Regions from separate parts of the Homo sapiens genome. Here regions 1, 2, 3 and 5 are each linked to region 4. The links are contacts of gene promoters, found by promoter capture Hi-C in blood cells and fetal thymus (Javierre and others, 2016). All regions are on one chromosome and are shown on one strand. Each heading gives the region's core, a stretch centred on a gene start or on the middle of the fragment in contact. The rest is flanking DNA. Distances are from core to core; before and after follow the strand shown.

Region 1 (2,700 bases), core at 89-2,588, 150 kb before region 4:
GTCCTTCACCCCAGCAGCTTATTAGCTAGTCCTCACTTCCTTCCTTATTCTGCTTTAGTCTTCTGGCTAATCCCCCAACACAAAAAGCTCATTCCCATCTCAAGACCTTTGAACTTGCTCATCTCTCTATAAGAAACAATCTTCGCACAAATGTTTTTATGACTCACTTCACGTCATTCAAGTTTCTGCCCAACTGTCAGCTTCTTAAAGAATACTTCCCTGGCCAGCCAAGCTAAAACTTCACATGCATGCACGCGCGCGCGTGCACACACACACGCCCCTTTATTTTTCTTCATAGTATCTATCATCTGAAATTGTATTCTGTTTTATTTGCTTGCTTATTATCTGTTCTCTCACTAGAATGTAAGCCACGAAAGTAGGCAATTTGTCTCTTTTCTTGATGACACCAATAAGTGCCTAGCTCATAAAAGACAGTAAACTAATAAGTGCTTGAATGACTAAATAAATGAATGACTAAGCAAATGAATGAATGACAACAGTTCTCTCTCTCTGAGAAGAGTTCTGGGATATAAATTTTCTCTATCTCATTACAGTTATGGTGATGTTTTGACCCTCTTACAGACTGGGGCTCCAGGAAGATAGTCACCACTAGGTCCATTCCTGCAGTCACCTCTCTGCCCTGAGTTCACATGTTGATAACCACTACCACCACCCCTGCCAACTCTTTTCAAGGGGCTTCTCCTTTTTCCTAGGGTCCAAGCATCACTTCCACAAATGAGGCAAATGAGCTTAGAAAGACAAGCTTGACTGCCTCACCGTTGTAAGCTGTTAGATTATTCTCATGTTGTGTTGATTTAAAGACAATGGTTGGATGATGCTGCACTGCTGTTCCTGACTAAGCTTTATCTGCTGTGATTACTTACCCTGGTTGTTAACATCCTATAGCTATCCTGTATTCAGAGAGTAGACAGCTAATTGTAAACCAACCCAGGCAGGCTAAGATACTGTGACTCTATAGTCTCTGTAGTGGTTCTTGACCTTTTTGGGGTCATAGAGCTCTTTTGAGAATCTGATAAAAGCTAGGGGCTTTCCCCCTTCCCCCACCCCACCAAAATACATCTATGCATGTACAGATGAATTGTATATAATTTCAAGGGGTTCTCAGAATGTCTGAAGCCCATCCATGACACCCAAGTACAGGCCTCATGAATGTCATTCGGAAAGGAACAGGTCAGGCCTAGAGGTTAGGGCCCTGTGAGACGGGGGAAGATGTGGAGGACTGGGCAAGAGCACCTTTTCCTGGGCCTCTACTTTCCTGGGCCTCTATATTTTATGTGAAGAGAGAAATACAGACATTGTATATGCACGTATGTATGTTAAAGTCTCCTATTTTAAACACACTTTAATTTTATAACCCTATTTTAAGGTTTCTTCTGAGAGGGTCTACTTCAGGTATTACCTAATCTTCAGTCATTTGGCTTTCTTAGTTTTTTCCCATTGTGGCCGCAGGAGGGCAGGGTAAGTTCAAAAACAATGTGAATGCTGGCTGCAGCTTGGGCTGCAGTGAACCAGGCCTTCCTCACTGCTTTAACTATCCAAACACTAAGGGCCACCGTTTCACTCCTGTAACCTTTCCATTTCATGCCATTGGTGTGACCCGTTCATCTAGTGCATGGGTACCCTGCTCCCCAGCCAGTGAGGGAGCTGTTTTTCAACGTCTGAGAAGTCTCCTCCCCGATCCCCAGATTTAGCACATTTAGTCGTATTTGTGAAGAACACAATACATACTAGTTGTTGGTGTTCAATGTATGGTAGTCGGGGGTAGAAAGCAGTGACCAAGGGAAAAAAAGCTTTAAAAAAGGAAAACATATGGCCAGGCGTGGTAGCTCACACCTGTAATCCCAGCACTCTGGGAGGCCAAGGCAGGTGGATCACGAGGTCAGGAGATCGAGACCATCCTGGCTAACACGGTGAAGCCCCATCTCTACTAAAAATACAAAAAATTAGCAAAGCATGGCAGCAGGCGCCTGTAGTCCCAGCTACTCGGGAGGCTGAGGCAGGAGAATGGCGTGAACCCGGGAGGTGGAGCTTGCAGTGAGCCGAGATCGCGCCACTGCACTCCAGCCTGGGGGACAGAGCGAGACTCCGTCTCAAAAGAAAAAAGAAAAAAAAAAAAGGAAAATATATTATTATCCTAAAAGAGTTCATTTTGTGGATGAGAGAAAAGGAAGAAAATTATATTTGTTGGACCTACTGGATGCCATTTATAGATAATCATCTCGCTTTGTAGTGCTTTACTAAGAAATATGTTGTACTATTCCACTTCGCCCAAAATCACATAGCTAACAAATTTTTTTTTTTTTTTTGAAATGGAGTTTCGCTCTTGTTGCCCAGGCTAGTGTGCAATGGCGCGATCTCAGTTCACTGCAACCTCCACCTCCCAGGTTCAAGCGATTCTCCTGCCTCAGCCTCCCAAGTAGCTGGGATTACAGGCATGCACCACCACACCTGGCTAATTTTTTGTATTTTTAGTGGAGACCGGGTTTCTCCATGTTGGTCAGGCTGGTCTCAAACTCCCGACTTTAGGTGATCTGCCCGCCTCAGCCTCCCAAAGTGCTGGGATTACAGGCGTGAGCCACCGTGCCCGGCTGCTAACAACTTTTAATTCTCAAGTCAAACCCTGGTCTTTCCATTAAGCCTTTCATAAACTCAGGAAAAGAGAAGAAAATCCTTTAAAAA
Region 2 (2,700 bases), core at 182-2,681, 170 kb before region 4:
GAAGTGGGAGTATTAAACACTAGAAATGCTAAGAGTTTTCAAGGATTTGTATATTTATTATAATGTTTTTACTTCTGAACCTTCGATAATAGAAATATAGAACATTGCTTATTTTAAAACATGAGAAGGGCACAAAATGGAATAATTGCTTATTTTTTCCCAGACACTCTTAAAACAAATGGTATGAATTTTTTTAACTTTTATTTTAAGTTCAAGGGTGCATGTGCAGGTACATAAGTAAACTTGTGTCATGGGGGTTTGTTGTACAGATTATTTCATCATCCAGGTATTAAGCCTACTACCCATTAGTTATTTTTTCTGATCCTCTCCCTCCTCCCACACTCCACCCTCTGACAGGCCCCAGTGTGTGTTGTCCCTTTTTATGTGTCCATGTGTTCTCATCATTTAGCTCGCACTTATAAGTCAGAACATGCAGTATTTGGTTTTCTGTTCCTGCGTTAGCTTGGAATTTTTATTGTTAAATCCATAGTAATATGTCATCACAATTGTAGACACAAACAAGCTTAGTCCGAAGTTGTGGCTGGTTCTGGGTGTCATCTAATGACACCCTATATGACATCACCAGGCTGGACTGCCCTGATCACTGAGAAGTAAGGCTTAGATTCCAGCTATTTTGAATCATTCTGTGTCTGTCCTATAGTTGTAGTACAACTGCAGACACATAATTAGAACAATGGTGTAGCATTTTTGTATATAAAATGTAATAGAATGAATTTGTGACATCAAAATGCCTTGTAGGGTATCACATTTAGTCTTTTAAAATACCAAGGTGAGGCTTAAAATTTTTAGTACATATTCTCAAATTGGAGTTAAGTTACATTTCTTTTATAGCCTTTTGGGTATCTGGTCAAGAGAAAACAAGATTTTTCTCTGTTTATAATGATGCAATAAACTCAACCCATGTTGGCCACCAAATAAATAAAATAGGAATAAAAATTGATACTGAATGTTGTGTCATTCGATCAGTAATTATTTTATTTATTCACACAAACCTGAGCTAATTGAAAGAAGAGCCCAGCTTGTCCATGCCATTAAGAGGAATATTTCCAATTATTAAGAGAAACATTTCCAATTAAAGCTATGCTTAATGCCAATAATTATTTCTCAAAATTTGTATATACATGTTGTTTTAATAAATTGTATATGAATGATAATTCTAATAATAACTCAATCTAGAGTGCCCCTTAGAGCCTATGCTCATAGGAAACTTAGAACTCTTGCAAAATATAGCTGTTTTAGATGCAGAGAAGTATGATGGGATGATCAATAAAAGGTTGCCAAGCATAAAAATTCTTTTACATTATGATAAAACTCTCAGGGAAAGTGAAATGGAAATATGAGTTCAAGGAGAAAAAGGAACAATCTAAATTTCTATCTCTTGGGAAAAAAAGAGCTTGTTCATGTACTTTTAACACTGAATAATGGTGAGTATCAAATCACCATGGCATTTAGATTCAATTGGACTGTTTTGAAGAGTTATATTATAGTTTTATTTTTAAATGTTGATATTTAAAATATGCAGGAAGTTACATCGTTAGCAACCACTTATAAAGTTGGAATTTTAAAATATAGATGTTCACTTAAAAATGCATAAGGGGGTACATTGTTTCTCAGATTCTTTTAGTGGGTACATGAGAAGAAATGCTTAAAGCCTACTAGGCTACACCTGTGGTGTGATTTCTTCTAATTTCTTTCTCGGATAGTTTTCTTATTTTCCTTTCTAGATTACAAGTTTTCTTTGTGTAAGAATTATATGCAATTCCTTGTGTTTTCACCCCAAAGACTTGGGGAGAGAAGAATATATCAACTGTGGAGCTAAGCCCAGGAAGGTGTTGACTTAAGCAGTCTTTGTATTCTGGCAGGTTTACAGCTCATGCTCATGGATTTTATGTGCATTACAGATATCACTCAGTTCTGCTCTATGGTCAGGAAGGTGTCCCCATCCCAAAATATAATTCTTCCCCACCCCCCACCTGCTATTGATGCATGGAATCCCTTCAAATGATGTCACAAATCTTCAGTCCACATTTATCAAAATGCATATATCCTTAGGAGAAGTAACATTGACCTAGTATCAGATTAAATTAGTTGACTCCTAAGAGCAAGTTTTTATAAAGGTAGATGAGGAGAACCAAAAGGTCGCTTGTCTCGGTTTAACATGTTGGCTCCTTAAGCTGACTGCAGACTAACCCAAATATCTCTTCTTTACTGAAGTTATCCTAAAGAGCGTATTAGATAGGACGTATGAATTCTGAAGTGATCAACCACATCAAAATTCTCACTTCTGGGAAAACCTCATTTTTAAGTAGAGAAGCTTTTGGTGCCTAGACTGACTAAGAAATGAAGATGATGTCTAAGGTGAACACTGTCTGGCCTCCAGTTTGCAGGTCACCCCAAAGTAAAACTAAGCAGTCACACAACTGGATTTCCCTTTGTGTGAGTGAATGAGTTAAAACACTTCCTTTCATGTTTCTGGTAACTCTAAGTAATCAAAACCTTTATGGCTGCAAATTTTCCTTCTGCTAGTGTAGGGAAGATTTTGGTGCAGTGGCTAGAACACAATAGGAATTCAGTAGATGTTGGTCAAATAAATTTTCAGGAAGGGAAGGAACTTCTGAGGAATTATTTATAATAAATTTAGACTGCCAATTAATCTGAAACCTGGTCCCTAAAGACTTG
Region 3 (2,700 bases), core at 39-2,538, 190 kb after region 4:
TTCTCAGCAGCACGGGGCCCATCCTCATCTTTGAGAAGCTCCTCTTCGACTTCAGCAAGTAGGTGTCCCTTGGTGGCCCCCAGTGCCTGCTCTCGCATTTGGGGCAGTATGCTGGGGCTAGGGCAGGGGAATAGGTCCCAAGGGTAGGTGGTGGTGCGGTGGTGCCAAAGCCATCTTTAACTATGGGAAGGGCTACCAGGTGGCCCCTCCTGACTCCTGCCAGCTACCTGCCTTTAAGACATCTTAGTGCATATTGGCACAGCCCATAGGGACCAGCCACGACAAGAGGAGAAAATTCACACCACTCAGTTTGTGAGCAATGGTGACTTGATAGGCAGTATAGTGTATGAAGTCTTGGGCTGAAGGTCAGAAGGTTACACCCAGACCCAGGCAGCTCCCATCACTACTCCAGGCTCAGTTGCCTCCTCTACAACATGAGGGTTTGGACCAGACCATTTCCAAGGGCTGCTCCAACCCTGTTCTTCCAAAATTCCCTGTTTTTCACTCACTCTGGTGTCTGTTACCAACTGTGAGCACTGAGATGTCTTGGCACCTTCCTGCCTCCTCCATAAGATCTTTAAAAAAAATTTTTTTTTGGCCGGGCGTGGTGGCTCACACCTGCAATCCCAGCACTTTGGGAGGCTGGGGCGGGCGGATCACCTGAGGTCAGGAATTTGAGACCAGCCTGGCCAACATGGTAAAACCCCGTCTCTACTAAAAATACAAAAATCAGCCAGGCGTGGCGGCGGGTGCCTGTAATCCCAGCTACTTAGGAGGCTGAGGCAGGAGAATCACTTGAACCAGGGAGGCAGAGGTTGCAGTGAGCCAAGATCACGCCATTGCAGTCCAGACTGGGTGACAGAGAGAGACTCTTTCTCAAAAAAAAAAAAAAGTTCTTATAAAGATGAACACTGGACCCCCATGAAATCTCAAAGATCAGACAACTCTGCCCAAGAATTGTCCCTGTCCCCAGTCTTTCACAGTCCCTGGGAGGGCATCAGTGCCACAGGAGGACAGATAAGCCACTTAAGGATGAGTCTGAGGAGTCAAGCACAGCCAGGAGCCCTGGGCTGGAGGCCCCTCACCTCCCCTCTGCCTTCCAGAGGCAATGGCCTGGACTACATGGAGTTCCGCCTCTGGATTGGCCTACACTCAGCTGTCCAGTGCCTTATCCTAGTGGCCACAGATGCCAGCTTTATCATCAAATATATCACCCGCTTCACCGAGGAGGGCTTCTCCACCCTTATCAGCTTCATCTTCATCTACGATGCCATCAAGAAGATGATCGGTGCCTTCAAGTACTACCCTATCAATATGGACTTCAAGCCAAACTTCATCACTACCTACAAGTGCGAGTGTGTCGCCCCTGACACAGGTGACCGGTAACCCCAGACATGCCGTGGGCCCTCACCTACCCCACCGGCCCCCTGATCCTTCACCACAGCTCTCTACTTCTACTGCTGGGGAGGGGCCATTCAGCCAAGGGCTTACAGTTCCAAGAGAGCAAATACAGGGTCTTGAACCCAGTGTTTGGAAGGAAACCAAGGGGACAGTAGCTCTAATAAGAGTCACAGGGTTGTCATCAGGAGGGCACAGGGATATCCTAGGAAGGAGTAAGGCATGCTTTGCCTCAGTGTGGGGTAATGTGGAGGCCACACCTATCAGGAGTGCCACTCAGGGGTTCCTGCTGCAGGCCAGAGATAGAACTGATGGTGCCTGAAGTCCCGCCCAGCTCCATCAAGTCATGATACGATGAGCTCTCCCCAAGACAGAGCTGCCCGTGTGGCCACATACCGTGTAAGGTGAGACCACACCTGAGGGATGGACATCCACACAGATGGAAACATGTCCAGAGTGGAGGCTCTGTCATCCATGCCATCTGAGAACAGTTGGAGAACCGGGGCTTATTCAGCCTCTTATGAATATGAGAGTTATGAGAGAAGGACTGTCATGTCACAAAGGAGCTGTGTTCACCCTCTGAAACCACAGGATGTAGAGCTGAATGAGGAACAGGGAGCAGAAGCTCCAGGAAGCCAGATGCTGGCTGAATTTAGGAAAGAACCTACAATGGTGGGCGTTAACCACCATGGGAGTTCTCGGCCCCCTTGGTTGGTAGCAAGTTACTTGGACACTCTCTGGATGTCCATCTGCCAAGGATATTGTAAAAAGGATCCCTGTACAGATGGGGTCAACCTGGTAACACCCAGTGCCACTCCTGTGGAGTTACTTTCTGGCCAAAACACCTGTCATCTGTAAATTAGGGCTTCCCATAGCATCTGAGCCTCCTCCATAGTCATGATCATGCCCCTAAGAGCTTTCAGTGGGATGTGCCCAGAGTGCCCAGGGTGCTGCAGAGCAGGAGCAGGAGGTCTATGCACACATCTCCAAGCACCAAGGCTGGACTCACAGAGAGCAAACTGAGGTCCAGAGACCACCCAAGGTCATGCCAAGCCTCAGTTTCCCTGGCTGTAAAAGAGGGGTCTCAATGCGGGCCCTGGTGGTCTCCTGGGACTCCTGTGGGGTTTCCAAATCTATACCCCGATTGAGTTGAAGGAAATAAGTGGATAGTGGGTTCAGCCCCTTAATACATTACTACGGGTAAAAAAAATCATAAGTCAATCGAAAATATTTGCTGCACAATTATTGTATGCCCTACTTTAGGCCTTGTGGAAGATAAAGATGTCCTGCCTTCAGAGAGTT
Region 4 (2,700 bases), core at 3-2,502:
CTTTCGGGCTCAAGCAATCCTCCCACCTTAGCCTCCCGAGTAGCTGGGACTACAGGTGTGCACCACCATGCCAGGCCAATTTGTGTGTGTGTGTGCGTGTGTGTGTGTGTTTTGTTGAGACAGGGTTTCATGTTGCCCAGGCTGGTCTCCAACTCCTGAGCTCAAGAGCGATCAGTCCCCCTTGGCCTCCCAAAGTGCTAGGATTACAGGCTTGAGCCACTGCACCCAGCCATCTTTTTTTTAGACGTAGTTTCGCTCTTGTTTCCAAGGGTGGAGTGCAATGGTGGGGTCTCAGCTCACCACAACCTCTGCTTCCCGGGTTTAAGCGATTCTCCTGCCTCAGCCTCTCAAGTAGTTGGGATTACCGGCATGTGCCACCATGGCCGGCTAAATTTTGTATTTTTAGTAGAGATGGGGTTTCTCCATGTTGGTCAGGCTGGTCTCGAACTCCCAACCTCAGGTGATCCACCCTCCTAGGCCTCCCAAAGTGCTGCGATTACAGGCGTGAGCCACCGCGCGCAGCTGCTCTTTATGACTGCAAATATGGGGCACTTGCCTTGTGCCAGGCACTATGCTGGGCATTTTACCCTCATTCTTATAGGTAATCCTCATAGCAACTTGAGGAGTGGAGATAATTACAGTATTCCCACTGAACAAATGAGAAAACTGAAGCTCAGAAAGGCCAGTGACTGGACCAAGTTAATGATTGCACGGTTAGTTAGTGACAGAGCTGGGGTTTCACGACGTGTTTAAGCACCGCCCCATCAGTTGTGGCCACTAGGCTTAGGCGGATAGCCTCGCAGAGGAGCCTAGGTGGGGAGGGGGACGAAGAAGGAACATTTGGGACTGTGGGATGTTGAAATGGTCTCTTCGGAGGCTGCCGGGATTGAAACTGGGCAAGGTCCCAGGGCCCGAGTAGAGCCAGAGCGTGCTACGCGGCGATCCCTGAGCCACGGGGTTTTCAGCGCCCGGGAAGCCAGGCTTGCCAGGTTGGGGCGGCTGGCGGGGCAGGGCTTCTCGGTCCGTCCCAAGTCCAGGTAGGCGCTCGCGACCCGCGCGGGCAGGGAGAACGCGCTCCCACAGTGCTCGCGAGGTGCAGTGCGCCCCTGGGGGCTCCGGGGCCGTCGGGCCAGGTCGGCTTGGCGCCCAGGGACTGGCCGGACGGGCTGGGCCTTTGGCGGGGGTGGAAGAGGAGGTTGCCGCGCCCTGCCCGGCCCAGGTGTCGTCTCCGGGGGCGGGGTTTGGAGCCCCGCAGCGGGAGATTCCCGGCCGGACTGGCGGACGAGCGTCGAGAGACAGAAGCCGAGGAGAGGAGGCTAAGCCGGGCGGCGCGGGGAGCGCACTGAGCAGGCAAAGTCGCAGGGCCGCCAGCATGTTCTCCCGAAACCACCGGAGCCGGGTCACCGTGGCCAGGGGCTCCGCCCTGGAGATGGAGTTCAAACGCGGCCGCTTCCGACTCAGCCTCTTCAGCGACCTGCCCGAGGTGAGAGACTCGCGTCCCTGCCTTCCCCTTCCGCGGCTCCCGGGGGCAGCCCCAGCCACCTCGGCCTCCTTCCCTCGCCCGCGTGCACGCCGAGGGGCGGAGACGCACGGTCTGGGTACAAACCCGACGGAGTTGTTGACTTAAAAAGTAAGGTGTGGACGGTCTGCATTTTCATCGGATCCATGCTGCCCATTCCGCGGCCTGGTTAGGATTATCTGCCTGAGCCTGGAAAAAGCCCGGGTTGGTCTCAATTTGTAGGGCCCCAGCTCGACTCCTAAAATGTGCCTGAACCCCAAAATGTCTTGGGCATCCCCGGGCCAAGGGCGGTGGGCAGCTAGGCGGGCCCCAAGCGCTCGGACTCTTGGCCTGGGCTCCCGCTTGTTCCCCAGTCGCCAGCCCCATCCCACAACCTGTCGCAGCCATCTGGGCCAGCCTCTGTCATCAACCCCGACTTTAGGCCGGGGCCGCTCGCTTCCCCGAAGCCCAATTCAAAGGCTCCTCTATGCCCCTGCAGGGCTTTTAACTCCTTGGGGTTACTTCCCACACGCAAAATTTCCGCCTCCTTTTCTGGGGCCTAAGAGGAGTCCAGCCCCTAGGCTGAGCGTTTCCCCCGTCCGCCGTCCACGCGTTAACCTGTTGGATCCCCACCTGTAACGCCCTAAGGGCTAGGGCGGGGCTGAAGGTGTGTGGTTGAGCGGGGACTGAGAGGGCGAATAGCTACCCCGAAGACTCTTCTGTCCCCAAGGTCAGACTCACACTCGCCCAAGGAGAGCCCAGTTCCAAGCCTTCCCTTCCGGGTCTGGAAAGGGTTAAGTGAGGTGGGCCTTCCTTCCGCCCCCTCTACCTCCCGGCTGGGATTCCAGGCCTGGCTTCTGCCCTTTCCCTCCAGCCTGCCCAGAACAAAGAGGCTCTTTCACACCCTTGTCCCGGCGTCCCGGGCCTTCTCTGACTCAGAAGCTAGTGGACCTGGGGAGAGGGGGCCTTTGTCGCGTCCCCTTGCCCCCAAGCGACTGGGCCCGAGGAACCCGCGTGGGGCCAGCGTGGGGGAGTAAGGGGCGAGGCCCGGGACCAGGGGGAGGGGCCTGTGAGCTGGGGCCGCCCCTGGGATTAGCCCGGCCTTCGGGGACAGCTCGGAGGAGCTGGGGCGGAGCCGCAGGGCCTGGCGGCCGCCGAGTGAAGTGTGACTCCGTGGGCCTGGCGTGGAGGCGGGGGCGCTA
Region 5 (2,700 bases), core at 73-2,572, 220 kb after region 4:
TCAAGTTTGAGAGCCACTAATTTATGTATTTATTTTATTTGTTTGAGATGGAGTCTTGCTCTGTCGCCCAGGATGGAATGCAGTGGCACAATCTTGGCTCACTGCAACCTCCGCCTCCCGGTTTCTAGCGATTCTTCTGCCTCAGTCTCCTGAGCAGCTGGGACTACAGGCACCCACCACCATGCCTGGCTAACTTTTGTACTTTTAGTAGGGACAGGGTTTCACCATGTTGGCCAGGCTGGTCTTAAACTCCTGACCTCAGGCGATCTGCCCACCTCGGCCTCCCAAAGTGCTGGGATTACAGGTGTGAGCCACCACGCCTGGCTGAGAACCACTAATTTAAAGAATAACTGTAGTTCTCCAGCCCATGGCCTTTCTGAGGCTCCCCACTTCGGCTGTCACAGGCTCCGTCCCTCTTGGTCACTGGTAGGCATGGTCACTCACCTGAGGGGCCAGACAAGAGGAACTACGGTGGAGGGAAAGTGAATAATGGCTTATGGGAGCTTCGAGACGGCTCCAAAGACACCACAAAAAGTCCCTGAACTCAGCCGACTGAGGGAGAAAAAAATCTATGCCTGAGTTTGGGCATTGAGACCACAGTTTTCTCCAAATTCTCACAAAACTTTAGTCTCTCTCCACCACAGATCCTGGGCCTCATCATCGTTCGAAGGCTTCTGGATTTCATCTTTTCCCAGCACGACCTGGCCTGGATTGACAACATCCTCCCAGAGAAGGAAAAAAAGGAGACAGACAAGAAGAGGAAGAGAAAAAAAGGGGCCCACGAGGACTGTGATGAGGAGGTGGGGAAGATGTGAGGCCGGGGCACAGAGGAGAAATTGAGAGACCTTCTCTCCACTTTTGCCAGGGACAGGGAGAGGGCGGCTTCTTGGGTGGCCTGCAGCAGTGCCTCGGCCCAGTCCAGGATGGGCTGGGGCATCTGCTTGTCTTGGTCTGGGGTGTTGAGGGCTCTTCTGTTTATGTGAATATCCTCAGGGTGGGCCAGAGTGAATGAGACTCCCTGTCCAGGGAAAAGGTGACTGGCCATGCCCACTCTTTCCATCACTGTGGGCTTTACGGCCGTGATCACAGCAAGCGGGTTCCTGTGGGAAGGGCCAGGAGGCAGCTCCAGCATGGAAGGAGGTTATGAAGACTGACCTCCAAAGAGTGGAGCAGACTTGGGGAGAGGTGTCTAATGGGGCCTTATAAGTAGACTGGACTCCAGACAGGCAGGAGGGGCTGGGAACAAGTTTTGCTTGCGCCTTTGCCTAGGGTATTGAGGACAAAGATGGGGAAAGAGGCAGGTATCCTCGCCAAAAGGAGACTGGCTACATTTCCCAGATGTCTGGGACAACATGGTTGCCCCATCTGCCCCTCTTCTCCCATGGTCCCTTCCCATTTCATCCCCAAAACACTCAGGGAGTCAACAGACAAGGGGCCAGTCCAGAAATTATAGTGAATCACAAAACATGAGGCAGAAAGATTCTTAATTCATGTGTTCATTACTTATGATGAAACTGTCCCCACAAAAGGAAGTGACTTACCCAAAATGGACATGTAGCTACATTTCTAAGAAGGAATTAAGAAAATAATTCCTGACTTTGCTGGTTTCTGATATGCTAAGCTGCCTGTGCCATCTCCTAATGCTGTGCTTGGTTCCCAATCTCCCAATTTGACCCAAACTCACGTCCCTGCATCCACCCTGTCCTGTTCTCGTGATTTTGCCTTGTGCAGATGAAACCTGTTCAAGGCAAATCCCTTCTGACTGGCTGGTGGTGATTAAACCATCTTCTGATCAGTCAGAACTCCCCTGGTCCTTAATTACTGTGCTCTTCCAGGAAGAGTCCCATAATGCATGTGTTTGTAGATGATTTGTAAAGGTGGGTTCTGAAAACAAAGAAACAGAGACTAAGTGCCTTTTAAAGACAAATACTTCTTTTGTTGATACTTTCAATAAATATCTGAGTGGCTACCACATGCCAAGAACTATTACAGGGTTGGGAAAAAGAATCTCTGAATTATGATATATCAATGGAAAAACAGGATTCAATTTATACAAATTCATTTTACTTGTCTTATAGCAACACAGTTGTTGTGTGAGGTTCATTCCCAAGTGACTGGTTGCTGTGACAGATAAAACTGTTTTGATGAGTAACATTCCTGGAAGAGTTCCGGTCTGTCTGATGGTGTGTATAGGACAGCAGGCTAACTGTGCCCATTCCCCTTCAGTGGACCCCAGGGTATTTGCAGCATCCCCTAACTGTTTAGAGGTGAACAGAATGGTGGTTTGCAATGTTCATGCATGCATTTTCCATCTTGGCAAGAAAGCCAAGTTGTTGGCCACGCGCGGTGGCTCACATCTGTAATCCCAGCACTTTGGGAGGCCGAGGCAGGGGGGATCACAAGGTCAGGAGTTCAAGACCAGCCTGGCCAGCATGGTGAAACCCCATCTCTACTAAAAATACAAAAAATTAGCCAGGTATGGGGGTGCACGCCTGTAATCCCAGCTACTTGGGAGGCTGAGGCAGGAGAATCACTTGAACCCAGGAGGCAGAGGTTACAGTGAGCCGAGATCGCACCACTGCACTCCAGCCTGGGCAGTAGAGCGAGACTCTGTCTCAAAAAAAAAAAAAAAGAAAGCCAAATTGTTGTGTTGGTGTTTATCCTCTTTTCCCACTGTTTTTCTCCAGCCCCAGTTCCCTC

The links. The method cuts DNA at HindIII sites, captures the fragments that hold promoters and counts their contacts. A CHiCAGO score of 5 or more calls a contact.
Region 1: a fragment that was not itself captured here is called in contact with the fragment with the promoter of RTKN in region 4 in 8 of 17 cell types (total B cells, naive B cells, naive CD4 T cells and 5 more); the score reaches 7.6 in total B cells.
Region 2: a fragment that was not itself captured here is called in contact with the fragment with the promoter of RTKN in region 4 in 1 of 17 cell types (neutrophils); the score reaches 5.9 in neutrophils.
Region 3: a fragment that was not itself captured here is called in contact with the fragment with the promoter of RTKN in region 4 in 7 of 17 cell types (naive CD4 T cells, megakaryocytes, activated CD4 T cells and 4 more); the score reaches 6.7 in naive CD4 T cells.
Region 5: a fragment that was not itself captured here is called in contact with the fragment with the promoter of RTKN in region 4 in 1 of 17 cell types (naive CD4 T cells); the score reaches 5.7 in naive CD4 T cells.

The regions. Positions count from the first base shown.
Region 1 is chr2:74,586,630-74,589,329 of GRCh38, reverse strand. All of the region lies in intron 4 of M1AP (meiosis 1 associated protein), which reads left to right. Among named protein-coding and RNA genes, the nearest start is that of DOK1, 33 kb to the right of the region's middle. The HindIII fragment of the contact is 950 bases long and covers 864-1,813 here.
Region 2 is chr2:74,615,176-74,617,875 of GRCh38, reverse strand. All of the region lies in intron 2 of M1AP (meiosis 1 associated protein), which reads left to right. Among named protein-coding and RNA genes, the nearest start is that of M1AP, 32 kb to the left of the region's middle. The HindIII fragment of the contact is 1,812 bases long and covers 526-2,337 here.
Region 3 is chr2:74,245,711-74,248,410 of GRCh38, reverse strand. It overlaps SLC4A5 (solute carrier family 4 member 5), which reads left to right. Exons shown (of 31, transcript NM_133478.3): 18 at 1-58; 19 at 1,104-1,375. Among named protein-coding and RNA genes, the nearest start is that of MTHFD2, 48 kb to the right of the region's middle. The HindIII fragment of the contact is 6,305 bases long and covers 1-2,700 here.
Region 4 is chr2:74,440,489-74,443,188 of GRCh38, reverse strand. It overlaps RTKN (rhotekin), which reads left to right and starts at 1,252. Exons shown (of 12, transcript NM_001015055.2): 1 at 1,252-1,483. The coding sequence starts at 1,373. RefSeq lists silencers at 1,162-1,241, 1,552-1,611, 2,327-2,636. The HindIII fragment of the contact is 8,784 bases long and covers 1-2,700 here.
Region 5 is chr2:74,222,940-74,225,639 of GRCh38, reverse strand. It overlaps SLC4A5 (solute carrier family 4 member 5), which reads left to right. Exons shown (of 31, transcript NM_133478.3): 28 at 645-800; 29 at 2,688-2,700. Among named protein-coding and RNA genes, the nearest start is that of MTHFD2, 26 kb to the right of the region's middle. The HindIII fragment of the contact is 4,313 bases long and covers 1-2,700 here.